Linked DNA regions of Homo sapiens: regions 1, 2, 3 and 5 are each linked to region 4. The links are contacts of gene promoters, found by promoter capture Hi-C in blood cells and fetal thymus (Javierre and others, 2016). All regions are on one chromosome and are shown on one strand. The core of a region is centred on a gene start or on the middle of the fragment in contact, and the rest is flanking DNA. Distances in the headings are between cores, read along the strand shown. Region 1 overlaps ZNF280C (zinc finger protein 280C). Region 2 overlaps ZNF280C (zinc finger protein 280C). Region 3 has its middle 15 kb from the start of SLC25A14. Region 4 holds the start of OCRL (OCRL inositol polyphosphate-5-phosphatase). Region 5 overlaps SLC25A14 (solute carrier family 25 member 14).

The links. The method cuts DNA at HindIII sites, captures the fragments that hold promoters and counts their contacts. A CHiCAGO score of 5 or more calls a contact.
Region 1: a fragment that was not itself captured here is called in contact with the fragment with the promoter of OCRL in region 4 in 4 of 17 cell types (activated CD4 T cells, M1 macrophages, total B cells and 1 more); the score reaches 6.8 in activated CD4 T cells.
Region 2: a contact is called between a fragment that was not itself captured here and the fragment with the promoter of OCRL in region 4, in 1 of 17 cell types (activated CD4 T cells). The highest score is 5.1, in activated CD4 T cells.
Region 3: a contact is called between a fragment that was not itself captured here and the fragment with the promoter of OCRL in region 4, in 3 of 17 cell types (activated CD4 T cells, M2 macrophages and M0 macrophages). The highest score is 8.3, in activated CD4 T cells.
Region 5: a contact is called between a fragment that was not itself captured here and the fragment with the promoter of OCRL in region 4, in 4 of 17 cell types (neutrophils, activated CD4 T cells, monocytes and 1 more). The highest score is 7.9, in neutrophils.

Annotation. Positions count from the first base shown.
Region 1 is chrX:130,209,424-130,212,123 of GRCh38, reverse strand. ZNF280C (zinc finger protein 280C) reads left to right here. Exons shown (of 19, transcript NM_017666.5): 16 at 2,409-2,471. Among named protein-coding and RNA genes, the nearest start is that of RAB33A, 39 kb to the right of the region's middle. The HindIII fragment of the contact is 157 bases long and covers 1,239-1,395 here.
Region 2 is chrX:130,229,569-130,232,268 of GRCh38, reverse strand. ZNF280C (zinc finger protein 280C) reads left to right here. Exons shown (of 19, transcript NM_017666.5): 9 at 1,542-1,759. Among named protein-coding and RNA genes, the nearest start is that of ZNF280C, 38 kb to the left of the region's middle. The HindIII fragment of the contact is 1,135 bases long and covers 771-1,905 here.
Region 3 is chrX:130,323,480-130,326,179 of GRCh38, reverse strand. No RefSeq gene overlaps it. Among named protein-coding and RNA genes, the nearest start is that of SLC25A14, 15 kb to the left of the region's middle. The HindIII fragment of the contact is 2,368 bases long and covers 129-2,496 here.
Region 4 is chrX:129,538,863-129,541,562 of GRCh38, reverse strand. It overlaps OCRL (OCRL inositol polyphosphate-5-phosphatase), which reads right to left and starts at 1,304. Exons shown (of 24, transcript NM_000276.4): 1 at 1,085-1,304; 2 at 740-819. The coding sequence starts at 1,123. RefSeq lists silencers at 1,091-1,290, 1,401-1,460 and an enhancer at 1,177-1,471. The HindIII fragment of the contact is 8,325 bases long and covers 440-2,700 here.
Region 5 is chrX:130,355,498-130,358,197 of GRCh38, reverse strand. The region is part of intron 6 of SLC25A14 (solute carrier family 25 member 14); the gene reads right to left. Among named protein-coding and RNA genes, the nearest start is that of SLC25A14, 17 kb to the right of the region's middle. The HindIII fragment of the contact is 3,436 bases long and covers 1-2,700 here.

The DNA of each region.
Region 1 (2,700 bases), core at 68-2,567, 670 kb before region 4:
TCTCTTGATCTGCCACTATACATCCTAGCTTCCGGAGAGTCCACCTTTTGCAGTTTACCAGTCTGCCTCTTCCACTACTACAGTGGTTCTGCACCTATACCCCAGTTTCTCTAAAGCAGACCCTAGCCAACCCTTCCCCCAGTACACTGCTGTGATTAATATTGTTCTCTTATTCTGTGCTAAACACTTGGCTGCCCTAGTGAGGCTTTAATTCTGCCACTAATTTATAGAGGATTAAATTGGAAAATATTTTTGGCATTACTTAAACCCATGTGTCATTCCGTCCTCCCCTCTCCCATTTTCCATAGGCTCACCAACTGTCTTGTAGAACCTTCAGCCCCATTCTATCCCCAGACATTCCCAATTGACCTAAAGTTACCTTCATAACATTTTCCTAATTTCTGGTGAGCCCCTGCACTGTCATCACACACATTGAGCTCTTACTCATCATTAACCTCATCTAGAACTGAAAGCTTCCACTTCTACTCTTCTGAGGGCCTCGTAGGTCCCTTTGCTTTTCCCCTACTTCAAGGGTACACTGTTTCCCTCATTGCTTCAGGTACCTTCCTCTGAATGGTGCACCCTCACTCCTACTCGGTGTGGACTTTTGTCATAGGTTTGAGTTCTGTATGTTCAGAGGCTTCATTTTCTCAGAGGTTGAGTACCTTTATTCCCAGGCTATGCCAACTCTTATGAGAAGACAGGCCCTCAAAATTGATCTATCTTCCCCAATGTATAGGCTCTTCATATTCAGTATCTAAAGTAGTTTTTCTTATTCTTGATTATTCTCTGAAATGCCCCTCTCCTTCCTCTCGTTTCACCCTCTGTGAAGTATCTGATCAGCACAGCCAGTCACAAGAATCATTCCTTTCTTTGAGTTCCGTAACATTCTGCTCTTCTGCCTCACATGTGTCTCTATTACCTCTTTGAGAAAGAAGCTCTTTCGTTGTATTCACCATGGTGCCTATTCTGAGGATGTTTTCTTGGAATTACAGCTAGCCAGAATCTTTATTTTCCCATGCATATATAGTAAGCTGGTGATGGTTACCTTGTGTCTGAGGGTAACTGTTGACCTGCTGTGTTGGGTCTGTCAGTGCAAGATAGGGCTAGTGCTTCTCAAACTAGCTTGCATAAGAATCAGCTGGAAAACTTGGGAAAACAGATTTCTGGGCCCCACTGCCAGAGATTAGTTCACTATGTTTGCAGTAAGGCCTGAAACTTTGTGTTTCTAACAAGCTTCTAGGTGATGCTGATGATGCTGGTCCATGGACCACACTTTGAGTAATACTGTGCTAGGCTAATCCTGGCTAATCTTGCCTGGTTGTCTAACACAGGAAGGCTTTCCTTATCATTTTAAAGGGAGGCATAAAAGCTATTACCATTGGCTGTGAAGCTTGATTAGTGGTTTTCTGATCTGTGTGTAGGAGAAGCATTGTTTTAATTCATGAGCTCTGCTCCTTAATTTGCTCTCTTTGAAAGTTCTCCTGGTAATTGCAAAGGACTCTTTAAATGTTTCATGTTTATTGAATTAAGCAATGGCCTTTATCTCAAGTAGTGTTTACTTCCAGGATCATTCAGATTATCCCCCTCCCCAAACATATTAAGATTAAAATGTAATAAGTAATTATTATTTTCCAGCCTGGGTGACAGAGCAAGACTGTCTGAAACAAAAAATAATAATTATTATAACAATTTCTATCATAGCAAAATACATTATCAAATATCCTTTAAATTGTTCTCTTAATAGTTAAAAAACTTTAATTTGACACTGCATTTTTAACTCAAGCATTGTTTTTAGTAATGGTGAGGTACTGATCATCTAAGAAAATTCTCAGGGAAATATGTCATTAGAAAATATAAAGGTAAAGTGGAATGTAAGTTAAAATTCTTGAATTAAACAGAGATGACTGTCTTCGTCCATTCAGGCTGCTATAACAAAATACCATAGACTGGGTAGCTTATAAACAACAGAAATTTATTTCTCACAGTTCTGGAGGCTGGAAAGTCCACGATCAAGGTGCCGGCAGATTCGGTGTCTGGGTGAGGGCCCATTCCTCATAGACAGCACCTTCTCACTGCGTCCTCACATGGTGGAAGGGGCACACTGGCTCTCTAGGATCTCTTTTATAAGTGCACTAATCTCATAAGGGCTCTGCCCTCATGACCTAATCACCTCCCAAAGGCCCCACCTCTTAATGCCATCACTTTGGGGGTTAAGATTTTAACATGAATTTTGGGGTGACACAGAAATTCAGATTATAGCTTTAACCAACAGAATTTTATTATTTAGATCATGATCTTTTATTCAAAACTAAGAAATTAAGCATTGGCTTGAAATGTGGTCAGAAAATTAATATGGTGTTGTATAATAAAATTAATAAAATCTTGTTTGTCTCGTGTTTCTCCAGCTCTCATAGCAACCATCCAGGTAAACGGTTTTGTATTTTCAAGAAGCATTCAGGAACTCTCAGGTAATCATTGATCTTTTTTTTTTCTTTCAATTGAAATATTGCAGTAACTTTTTAAAACTTGATGTTGGAGTGCCTGCTTTGGAAATGATAGAGTTCTGTTTATTATGTCCTTGGACCAAAGTTGGAGGGATAGCCTATCATCTCTGACTAAACTCTGTAGTGCCAAGCATTAAGATGAAACCTTCATGTATTTGCGTTTGTAAAATAACAAAAATAAGGTTCTCCAACC
Region 2 (2,700 bases), core at 89-2,588, 690 kb before region 4:
GGTAGATTTCCCCTTCAGATATTTAGGCATTCTAGATAGAATATGTTGAGATATTCAAAATGTAACTGATGCTTTTTTGTGTCCCACACATTTTCTAGCATGGTAAGTCTGGAGAATGGCAGGTTAGCTGTGCTCAAAGTCTAGTTCCAACCAGGCTTCACTTAAATATTACTGTGTTATTTGATAATCAAGCTTATACATAATGGCATGTAAAACTACCTTTTAAGCTTTTTTTTTTTTTTGAGACGGAGTCTTGCTCTGTCACCCGGGCTGGAGTGCAGTGGCGCGACCTCAGCTCACTTCAACCTCCGCCTTACGGGTTCAAGCAATTCTTCTGCCTCAGCCTCCTGAGTAGCTGGGACTACAGACACGTGCCACCACGCCCGGCTAATTTTTTTGTATTTTTAATAGAGACGGGGTTTCACCATATTGGCCAGGCTGGTCTCGAACTCCTGACCTCGTGATCCGCCTGCCTCAGCCTCCCAAAGTGCTGGGATTATAGGCATGAGCCACCACACCCAGCCTAAGCTATTTTTTTTTTAATTATTGTAGATTCAGGGGTACATGTGCAAGTTTGTTAACAAGGGTATATTGCATGATGCTGAGGTTTGGACTTCTACTGATCCTGTCACCCAAATAGTGAACATAGTACCCAATAGGAAGTTTTTCAGCCCCTGCCTTCCTCCCTCCCTCCCAACTTTTGGAGACCTCAGTGTAGTTTCCATCTTTATGTCTGTGTATACCCAATGTTTAGCTTCCACTTACAAGCTTCCACTTATAAGTGAGAACATAAGATATTTAGTTTTTTGTTTCTGTGTTAATTCATTTAGGATAATCGCCTCCAGCTGCATCCATGTTGCTGCAAAGGACGTTATTTCATTCTTTTTTATGGCTGTGTAGTATTCCATAGTGTATGTGTACCACATTTTCTTTATCCAGTCCACTGTTGATGGGCACCTAGGTTGATTCCATGTCTTCGCTATTGTGAATAGTGCTGCAATGAACATACAAGTGTAGGTGTCTTTTTGGTAGAACGATTAATTTTCCAGTGAGTATATACCCAGTGATGAGATTGCTGGGTCAAATGGTAGTTCCATTTTTAGTTCTTTGAGAATCTCCAAACTGTTTCTACAGTGGCTCAACTAATTTACATTCCTACCAGTGGTGTATAAGCATGTAAGCTGTATCTTGACACAGATATGAAATGGGTGATTTTGGGCCAAGAAAAATATTATTATTAAATATTTACATCTAAAAAGAAAAATTGCAAGGAAAAAATATTAGATACATAAACATCCCCTGATCTTAAGGTTTTCAATATTGTTTTTGAAGTTATTCCTTTATTAAGATAGTAGGTGTTTATTGTTTGAATTTTTTTAGAATATGTAAAAATGGAAGCCACAATTTTGGTCAGTATCTTTCTAGATACATTGCCAAGCGTAGTTTTATATCATCTGACCTTAGATGTAAACACAATCATTTTTTGGTATCTAATCTTTAAAAGAGCTGTAGACAAGGCTCATATTTTTTTCCTCTTTCAGCATTGTTGTCCAGACATGATAACTAAATTTTTGGGAGTAATTGTTAAATCAGAACGTCCATGTGATGAAGACAAGACTGATTCAGAGACAGGAAAGTTGATCATGTTAGTCAATGAGTTTTATTATGGAAGGCATGAAGGAGTCACTGAGAAAGAGCCAAAGACTTACACAACCTTTAAATGCTTCAGTTGCTCGAAAGTTCTTAAAAATAATATTAGGTATGTAAATATTTATTTTTATTTCTGTTTGAAAGTTGGGATATGACAGATAAGAATATAGTATCTTTACATTGCTCTGCCATCCTCGGTAATTAATTCTAATACTTTCTACTAAGAACAGTGGCAGATTATCATGTTGAAAAGCTTTTGTTCCTTCTTGTATTTTAAGAGTTTGACTCCAGGATCCACCTAGTTGTTTTGTTTTCAGATAGCTTAAGAAAAGACAAAATGTATTTTAATTTAGGGGAAAACTACTTATTTTCCCTACATTTATTACTGAACTAGACGGTTTCATGAAAAACTTATATTTTCTAGCTGACTTTGAATCTTACTTTTCTTCATGTCACAAGAAGAACCCTATGCAGCATGACCTCCTCCATACTAACCTTATTTAAAGCTCAAATTTTTCCATTTTAAAATAAATTGCAGGCGTTTACCAAAACCAAAGAGAAGTGTTTTGGAGGTGTGAAAAAAGATAAAAACCCAAACCTTCACAATGATTGCTATGTAGGTTGATGACATTATCACTTTGTTTCAAGATTATTTTCTTTAGTGATTCATAATAATTGTAAGTAGTTGACCCAGTCTTAAAACTGTTGTTTACATTGAATAACTTTACTTTGAAATTCAGCAAAAAGTTTTAGTAAGCCCTTTGAAAATGGTATGTCCATTTATATTGTACTCTCTGCCATTGAACATCATAGTTCCTTCTCTTCAGAAGCCTTTCAGAGAAGCTAAAATAGCAGAAGGTAAAACTGAAAAATAGACAGTGCTACAAAGGGCACAGCCTGCTAAGAAAAATGAATAGTTTGTGCTAACAGTAAGCCAGTATAATTAGATAAAACAAAAGGTTCTTGTAATTATAGTCATTAAAATTGCTATTGCATGCATTTAGAAACCAAGACACAAATAAAAATATACCAGCAGTTTGTCTTTTGAGC
Region 3 (2,700 bases), core at 63-2,562, 780 kb before region 4:
AGTATGATACTGAATAGAAGAAATTCTAGTCAATGAAATAAGGCAAGAAAAAAAGGCATTCAGATTGGAAAGGGAAAACAATAAACTCTCATTATTCATGGATAACATGTTGTCCAAACAGAAAAGCTTCTAGAATGTTGTATAAATAATCTACAACTAATAAGTGGGCTTAGTAAGGTCACAGAATATAAAGTCAATACACAAGAATCAATTGTACTTTTATATATTAGCCGTGAATAACTGGACATTTTAAATTTTAAAAATATTTAAAACAGCATCAGACATATAGAATATTTAGGGATAAATGTGACGCAAAATGTGCAAGATCTGCACATTGAAAACTATAAAAGATTACTAAGAGAAATTAAAGAAAACTTAAATAGGAAGATATACTATACTCACGGTTTGGAAGACTCAATAGTATGAAAATGTCAATTCTTCTCAAACTGATCAATAGATTCAACACAATACCAACCAAAATCCCAGGAAACTTCCCTATAAAACTCACAAGCGGATTCTAAAATTCTTAACTGATATGCAAAGGATCTGAAATACACAAAAAAATTTTGAAAAAGAATGACAAAGTTAAAAGAATTACACTACTTGATTCAAGATTTATTATAAAGGTAATTAAGACAGAGTAGCATTGACAGAAGGAGAAATACATAGATCAATGGAGTAGGATAAAGGGTCCAGAAACTGACCCACAAATAAGGTGAACTTATTTTCAACTGAGATGACAAGGCAATTCAATGAGAGAAAAAACATTTTCAACAAATAATGCTGTCAAAATTCAATAACCTTGTCAGGCACGTTGACATACACCTGTAGTCCCAGCTACTTGGGAGGCTGAGGTGGGAGGATTGCTCAGGAATTTGAGGCCAGCCTGGGCAACATAGAGAGACCCTTATCTCTAAAAAAATAAATAAATATAAAAAATTCTGAATAATCTCATGCAATAAAAACACAACTTAGACCCGTATTTTATGCCATATAAAAAATAAAATCTCAATGAAGCATAGACCTAAAGGTTAAGAGTTTAAAAACTATTTCTTGAGACTGTTATGTAGCAAACTAAATTCCTAACTGATATAGAAGAATTCCATGGTGTAAAAAATATATGAAGAAGTATATTCCTTTTGTAAATGTTTATAATTTGCAATAACCTATTAAAACTCAGAAATCCAACAACAAATAAATTTAATTTTGTTTAACCCAGTAATACACAAGTATATTTGTCCATGAAGCTCTTTATTTGCATATTAGTAATAGTCTATGAAACAATTTCAAAACCACGATCTTGTTCAAGACTTTTGCTCTAAATATGAGAAATCTAATGCCTAGAGAGAGTAATTCACTTGAGAGAAATGGGAGATGTCTCCAACCATAAATCCTCTGCTTTTTGTATTACACAATAGATTATCATTTTCAGTGGCATGGAATATGCCTTGAAGGTTTCATAAGCAAGTGTTGCTTCTACTTCTGTGCCTCTACTACGTTTTGGGCCATCCCTATTATAGTGTTAATTATCCTATAGTACAATAATCTGTCTTTTTCATGAGACTGAGCACTCCTTCTGCCCAGGGAATGATAATGGATCATTTTTCTTTTGCCCAGTTAGTGCCAGTGACTAGAATATAGTGGAATTTCAGTAAATGTTTTACGAATAAAATATAAAGGTGGAGAGGATTCCCATGTGAACAGCTGATATGGTTTGGCTGTGTCTCCACCCAAATTTCATATTGAATTGTAGTTCCCATAATCCCCATGTGTCATGGGAGGGACCTGGTGGGAGGTGATTGAATCATGGGGGCAGTTACCCCCATGCTGCTGTTCTCATGATAGTGAGCGAGTTCTCACAAGATCTAACGGTTTTATAAGGGGCTTTCCCAGCTTTTGCTCAGCACTTCTCTTTGCTGCCGCCATGTGAAGAAGAACGTGTTTCCTTCCCCTTCTGTCATGATTGTAAGTTTCCTGAGGCTTCCTCAGCCATGCTAAATTGTGAATAAATTAAACCTCTTTCCTTTATAATTTACCCAGTCTCAGGTATGTCTTTATTAGCAGCGTGAGACCATTATTAGCAGCATGAGAGAGGACTAATACAACAGCCCAAGAACAAGAGTACAGACATCCAAAAGTTAGAGTACAAGACTCCAAGTTAGGAAGAGACGAAATATTATCTAAGGGAGGAAGTCATGGTTGGTGAGAAATTAAAAATAATATATGCACGACGAGGAAACAGGAAAGTAAACACAATGAGATGTAGCATTATCATAAGTGCAGAAAGATTTTTGGTTCAAGACAACTGGTATATAATTGCATAATCACTAAATAATTGCCTATACTACACACCAAGAATATGCTGTGTTTCGTGCAAAAAAAATCAGCACATTATTACATACTAACCACTTTAAAATCATTATTGCAGTTAGACAGCACTGGATATATATGGGTTTAAGTATCAGTTCAATATGTTGAGAGAAATAATTTCAAGCTTGCTATTCTCAAAATAAAAATGTTAGAATATATGAAAACAAAAGTACATTACAAATGAAGCTAACTTTTTAAAATTTATTTTTTTTTCTATAGTAGGTTCAAGTTCAAGAAGAAGCTAACCATTATATATCACGCTAAACTCTTGACTTATTTAGGTCTCATAACTACCCTGTCAGGTAGATTTCTCCTCAACCTCCCACCTTT
Region 4 (2,700 bases), core at 55-2,554:
GAGGTTAGCAGCTATGGTGATAGCTTATCAAAATAATCTTTTGATCAATCAGTCAACAGTATTTACGGAGCTCCTATGGCAGAGAGGAAGGTGACACACTGATAAAATACTGTCATTTCTATCTCTACACATTTCATTACCTTTTCTTTCTAACAGTAAAGTCAGTAAGTGAGGCAGTTTCTGGCCTACACTAAACCATTACTGAATTAATGAATATGCCTTCAACCCAGTGGGATAAGGGGACGGGGAGACTGGAGAAACCAGCTGAATAGGGTTAAGACAAGTCTGTAACGTTAACAATGAAGCATTTCCATAGCACTTTTACTTTTTGGAAGCCACTCTCGCATTTATTTTTCCCCCAGTTATAATTCCAAAGGCTGTAAGGTAAGGCAGTTAATGGTTTTATTAAACTGAAGAGTTAACTTTGGCCCAGAAAGCTTTATTGACTTGCCCAACGTTACACAACACATGTCAGTTGCAGGGGCAGGAACTAAGAACCCAGGCTTCCTGCTTCCCCGCCCATTCAGTCCTTCCACTGAGCCACACTGCCAAGCACAATCCAGAGGCTTGGAAGTTGGGGACAAAGCCCCGAGGTTAGAGAGCACTGGCACTTCACACCTGGACCTGAACCTGTTGCCCGCGTGGCTTCAGTAGGAGGACAGTGGGTGACCCGTCGCGGTTTGGGGTTGGGAGGTAATGGCAGGCTCCCCTCCTCTGTGGGAATCAGGTGGTTACTTACTCATATTGCCCGTTCCTCTGGGCTAGGGTCAGGGCGCAGGGCTCCCGGAGAGGACCCTTCATCTCCATACCCTCGACAGTATGCGGGCGCTAGTCAAGGGTCTCCTTCGGAAGCGCGGTGGGGAGGAGTGGTGCACTGCGGGGCGAAGGGGGTCTTCCACCCCCCCCCCACCGCCGCCCTCCCCCGCCCCGCCCCGCCCTGCTTCGTCTCCCGCGCCGGCCCCCTCCCCCTCTCTGCTCGGCCTCTGGGCCACCCGGTTGCCCCGCCCCACCGTGTTCCGCAGGGCCCCCGACCCCCACCCCCGGCCCTGCGCGGCCTCCCCTCTCCCTTCTCTCCGGCGGATACGGCAAGCGGCTGGGCTCCGACCGGGAGCGGCGGCTCCATCCAGGCGGCCTCCGGGCTCAGCAGGACAGCGGACTGCGGGCCGATCCGACGACACTGGCTCCCGCGTCCCCACACCCACCCACCTCGGCTGCGTGTCGTTTGAGGAACAGCTCCGCGCCGGGCGCCGGGCGCCGGGAGCCGGGAGCGGGGAGCTGGGAGCTGAGAATCTGACCCAAGAGAGAGCGGCGCCTCGCGCCCCCGCCAGTTTTCCAGGCCGCCGCAGATTCCGTCCCCTGCGGTCAAACTGCGGAACTGCAGCGAGAGACCTGACGGACTGGGGGCGTCTCTACCAGGTCCAGCAAGGAATGGGTTTTAAATGCCACCTGTGACATCAAAATTGTTCTGAGGACTTTGAAGGCCACAGAAACAAAACACAGTCATACCTATGGGAGATCTCAAACCTGTTGTGTCAATACGACCCACATCATTCAGTAAAAAAATACATATATATATATATATATATTTCTTAAGGTTATAATGTCCCGTGTTGGTTATCCTACCATTTCCTTTCCTCTTCTTTCTTCCACGCCCTAAATCGGAGAATTCCCCAAAGCCCAGACCTTTGCTCCTCCTCTGCGTCCCCTCCAGTTCACCTCTAACTAGACAATGTCCAAATATATATCCCTGGCCCAGACCTCTTACCTAATAGAGTCCATTGTTAACACATCACTGCGTCACAAAACTAACTCATTATCATTTCACTGGAAAGCCATATATCGTCTTCCCCCTCCTCATCTCTATATCCAATCAGTCAACACACCCTGTTAATATTTTACGTGGAATTACTTTTAGATTCCTTATTTTCTCTCCATTCACACTGCCATAACTTTATTGTAAGCCCTTGTGATAGCCTATCTGGGTTATTGCACTTTTCTTTAAATAAATCCTGTTGGGTTTACTCTTTCCTTTGACATGTTTACTCTGTTGACAGCCATAAAAATATTTTTCCCAAAGTAATTTTTCGATCGTGTTATTCATTTGCTCCAGAATCTATAATACACTAGATATCAAGAGTGACTGTAAATCTGTAGTAATTAAAAGTATGCTGTGGAGATAGACAATCAATGAAACACAATATAAACCCCTCAAACAGACCACACATATACGGAAGGTTGATATGCAGCGTGTGGGACATTTCAAATCAGTGGGGAAAGAATGGATTATCCACTAAGTGGTACTAGGACTACTGCTTATCCATATGGAAAATTATAAAAATTAGACCCCTACCTCAAACCATGGAAGAAAAATCAGTTCCAGGTGGATTAAAGATCTAAATGTGAAAAGCAAAACTTTATAACTTTCAGAAAAAAAAATTGAGTATGAGCTTGGAATATGGAATGAGAATAAGACATTTAGCTACATGAAATTTCAAAATGTATGTACTTTAAGACAATATAAACAAGTTAAAAGACAAACTGGCCTGCACAGTGGCTCATGCCTGTAATCCCAGCACTTTGGGAGGCCGAGGTGGTAGGATCACTTGAGCCCAGGAGTTCAAGACCAGCCTGGGAAACGTGGCAAAACCCTGTCTCTACAAAAACTATAAAAATTAGCTGGATGTGGTGGCAAGTGCTTGC
Region 5 (2,700 bases), core at 6-2,505, 820 kb before region 4:
GACACTGAAAGATATCAAAAATTAATTGCTAACCAGAAAAAAAATTGCGAAGTACTATATCATTTTTATAAAAAACATGTAAACTTAAAAATATCCATAAGCACAGCAAAGAGACGAGGTGAACATATAAAACTAAATACTTACAGTGGTTTATGTCTGAGTGGTGAGGCTACAAGTAAGCATTTTTCTCTTTTGTGTTTTTTCTGCCTTCCATATTTTTCTACATTAAACATGCATTGCTTACGTAATTATAAAAATGAAAAATGTGTTTTAAAATATAATTTTATGTTTATGAGACCTTAAGTTGAGTTCTATTTATAAAAAGCATAATATTATATTCTGCCAAGTGGCCTTTGAGAGCTGCAAGAAGGAAAGATAGCATTAAATGGCCATGTAAAAGGTTTGGTACAATTTCCCACAGACTCTGCACACATACAATCCTAGTAGTCAGTCACTAAATACTAGCGGCCCAAATGTAGGCCTGATTTTTATGAAGCACCATGCTACCATTCTAGGTTTCAACAAATGTCTTTAGTAAGTCATGTAATGGCAACATGCTTTTATGCAGAAAGTTAACTGTTACTACTAAGAGTTTTCAAATATTATAATTATAAAAACCTAAACCCATTAAATCAAGATACAACCTATCACAAAGACAAATGAAAACTACTAATACACTGTGGTAAGTAGAACACTTCTTTAAGGAGGTGATTCCTGACAACAGAGGGGCTAGCGTGAGGCAAGTGAAGTACTTTTCTTAGGCATGAAATGTAAGGGAGTGCAAGAAAAACTCAGTAATCAAGATAAATGATGTCTCAATATGATATTTTTTAACCAAAATTAATCCACAAAAAGCCATAATGAATCAAATATCAAATTTAACTAAAGCTAGGACTCAACAGGGCCAGGATTAGGGTAAGGTGAATGAGATGAGTTATGTGAAATTTTGGTATTTGGTTCATCATGAATTTTTTGCGTTAATTTTGATTGTTTAAAAATACTACATACAAATGTTGTTTATATTGATTACTGAGTTTTGTGGCACCTTCTTACATTCTGCATCAAAGGGGACTGCCTTACTTGTTTTGCCCTAGTCCTGGCCCTGTTTATGAGCCTGGTCTTGAAGGACAAATTCACCAGGAAAATGAGAAAGACGTTTCAGGAAGAAAGTGTTACGTGCACAAAGGCAAAGAAGCAGTACATAGTAGATCAGATATGGATTTCGATAGATCTCTCCAGCTTCATCTGGAGATGGGTTGAGGGAGTGGGGTACACACTAGAGTGAAGGGACAAGTTAGGAGGCTACTGAGATGAGGTCCTACAAAAGGAATGGTGGGGAAAGGACAAAGTTGAGAAATACAGATGAGGCAAAATCTGTAGAAACTTGATACCTAATCCAATACTAGAAGGAAGCAAAGATATAGAAGAATCAAAGATGATCTAGGTTTCTAGTTTAGATGACCCAGTAGGTCTGGGTAGTGTGGTAGATTATTGTCTCCCAAAATCTACTCTCCTTTCTTGAAGCTAGATGTAGCCATGGAACCAAGTCCTTCAGAATGGAACGTGAACAGAAATAATGGTTGAAACTTCCCAGTGTCTTGCTTAAAAGGAAATTGCCTATATTTCAGAACAGCCAAACAGCCCCACTAAATGAGAAAAAGTTGTCCTTGGCCAGGCGCAGTGGCTCACGCCTGTAATCCCAGCACTTTGGGAGGCCGAGGTGGGCGGATCACCTGAGGTCAGTAGTTTGAAACCAGCCTGGCCAACATGGCGAAACCCCGTCTCTACTAAAAATACAAAAATTAGCCAGGCGTGGTGGTGTGCACCTGTGTAATCCCAGCTACTCGAGAGGCTGAGGCAGGAGAATTGCTTGAACCCAGGAAGTGGAGGTTGCAGTGAGCCGAGATCATGCCATTGCACTCCAGCCTGGGCAACAGAGCGAGACTCCATCTCAAAAAAAAAAAAAAAAAAAAAAAAAAAGATTGCCCTTGCAGAAGAATTCTAGCTAAGAAACATGGATGGAATGATGGAATTAGAAAATCACCACTTTGCGACCTTAAATGAAACAATCAATTCAGGTAATGGCCACCAATGGATGAAACCATTAGATGAAGGATTGACAGGAAACTACAAAGGAGAAATCGGGCTGTCACGCCTGAACCCACTGATCAACCTTAACATCCCTATATTGGGACAACCAAACACTGTGTGCCTCCTCACATGACTCGGTATGACCTTTACAGAAACCTTCCCTTTTACAGAGAGAGAAGATTTAGAGAAATAAGTTAAATGATATCACAAGGAAGCAAAAAGACAAATCCAAAACTTGGGAATTCTAAAGGAGAGCTGATCCCATTTATTTGACAAGTTAATGGCAAAAAGCAAATAAATAAATAAATAAATAAAAGGTATATGGACAGGAGTGGGGTACTCTAGAATAAAAAGGACTTAAGAAACATAACTATTAAATATAATGCATAGGCTTTGGAACCCAAGTTAAACAAATCAACTGTAAAATATAAGACAGTCTGGAAATGTGAACATAGATTATTAGATGTTACTAATGAATAAATGTTAATTTTGTTAAATGTAACAATAGCACCATGGTTATATAGAAAAATATTCCTTTTATGAGATGCACATCGAAGTATATGGGGGAAAATGACAATGTCTGGAATGTGCCTTAAAATAATTCAGAAA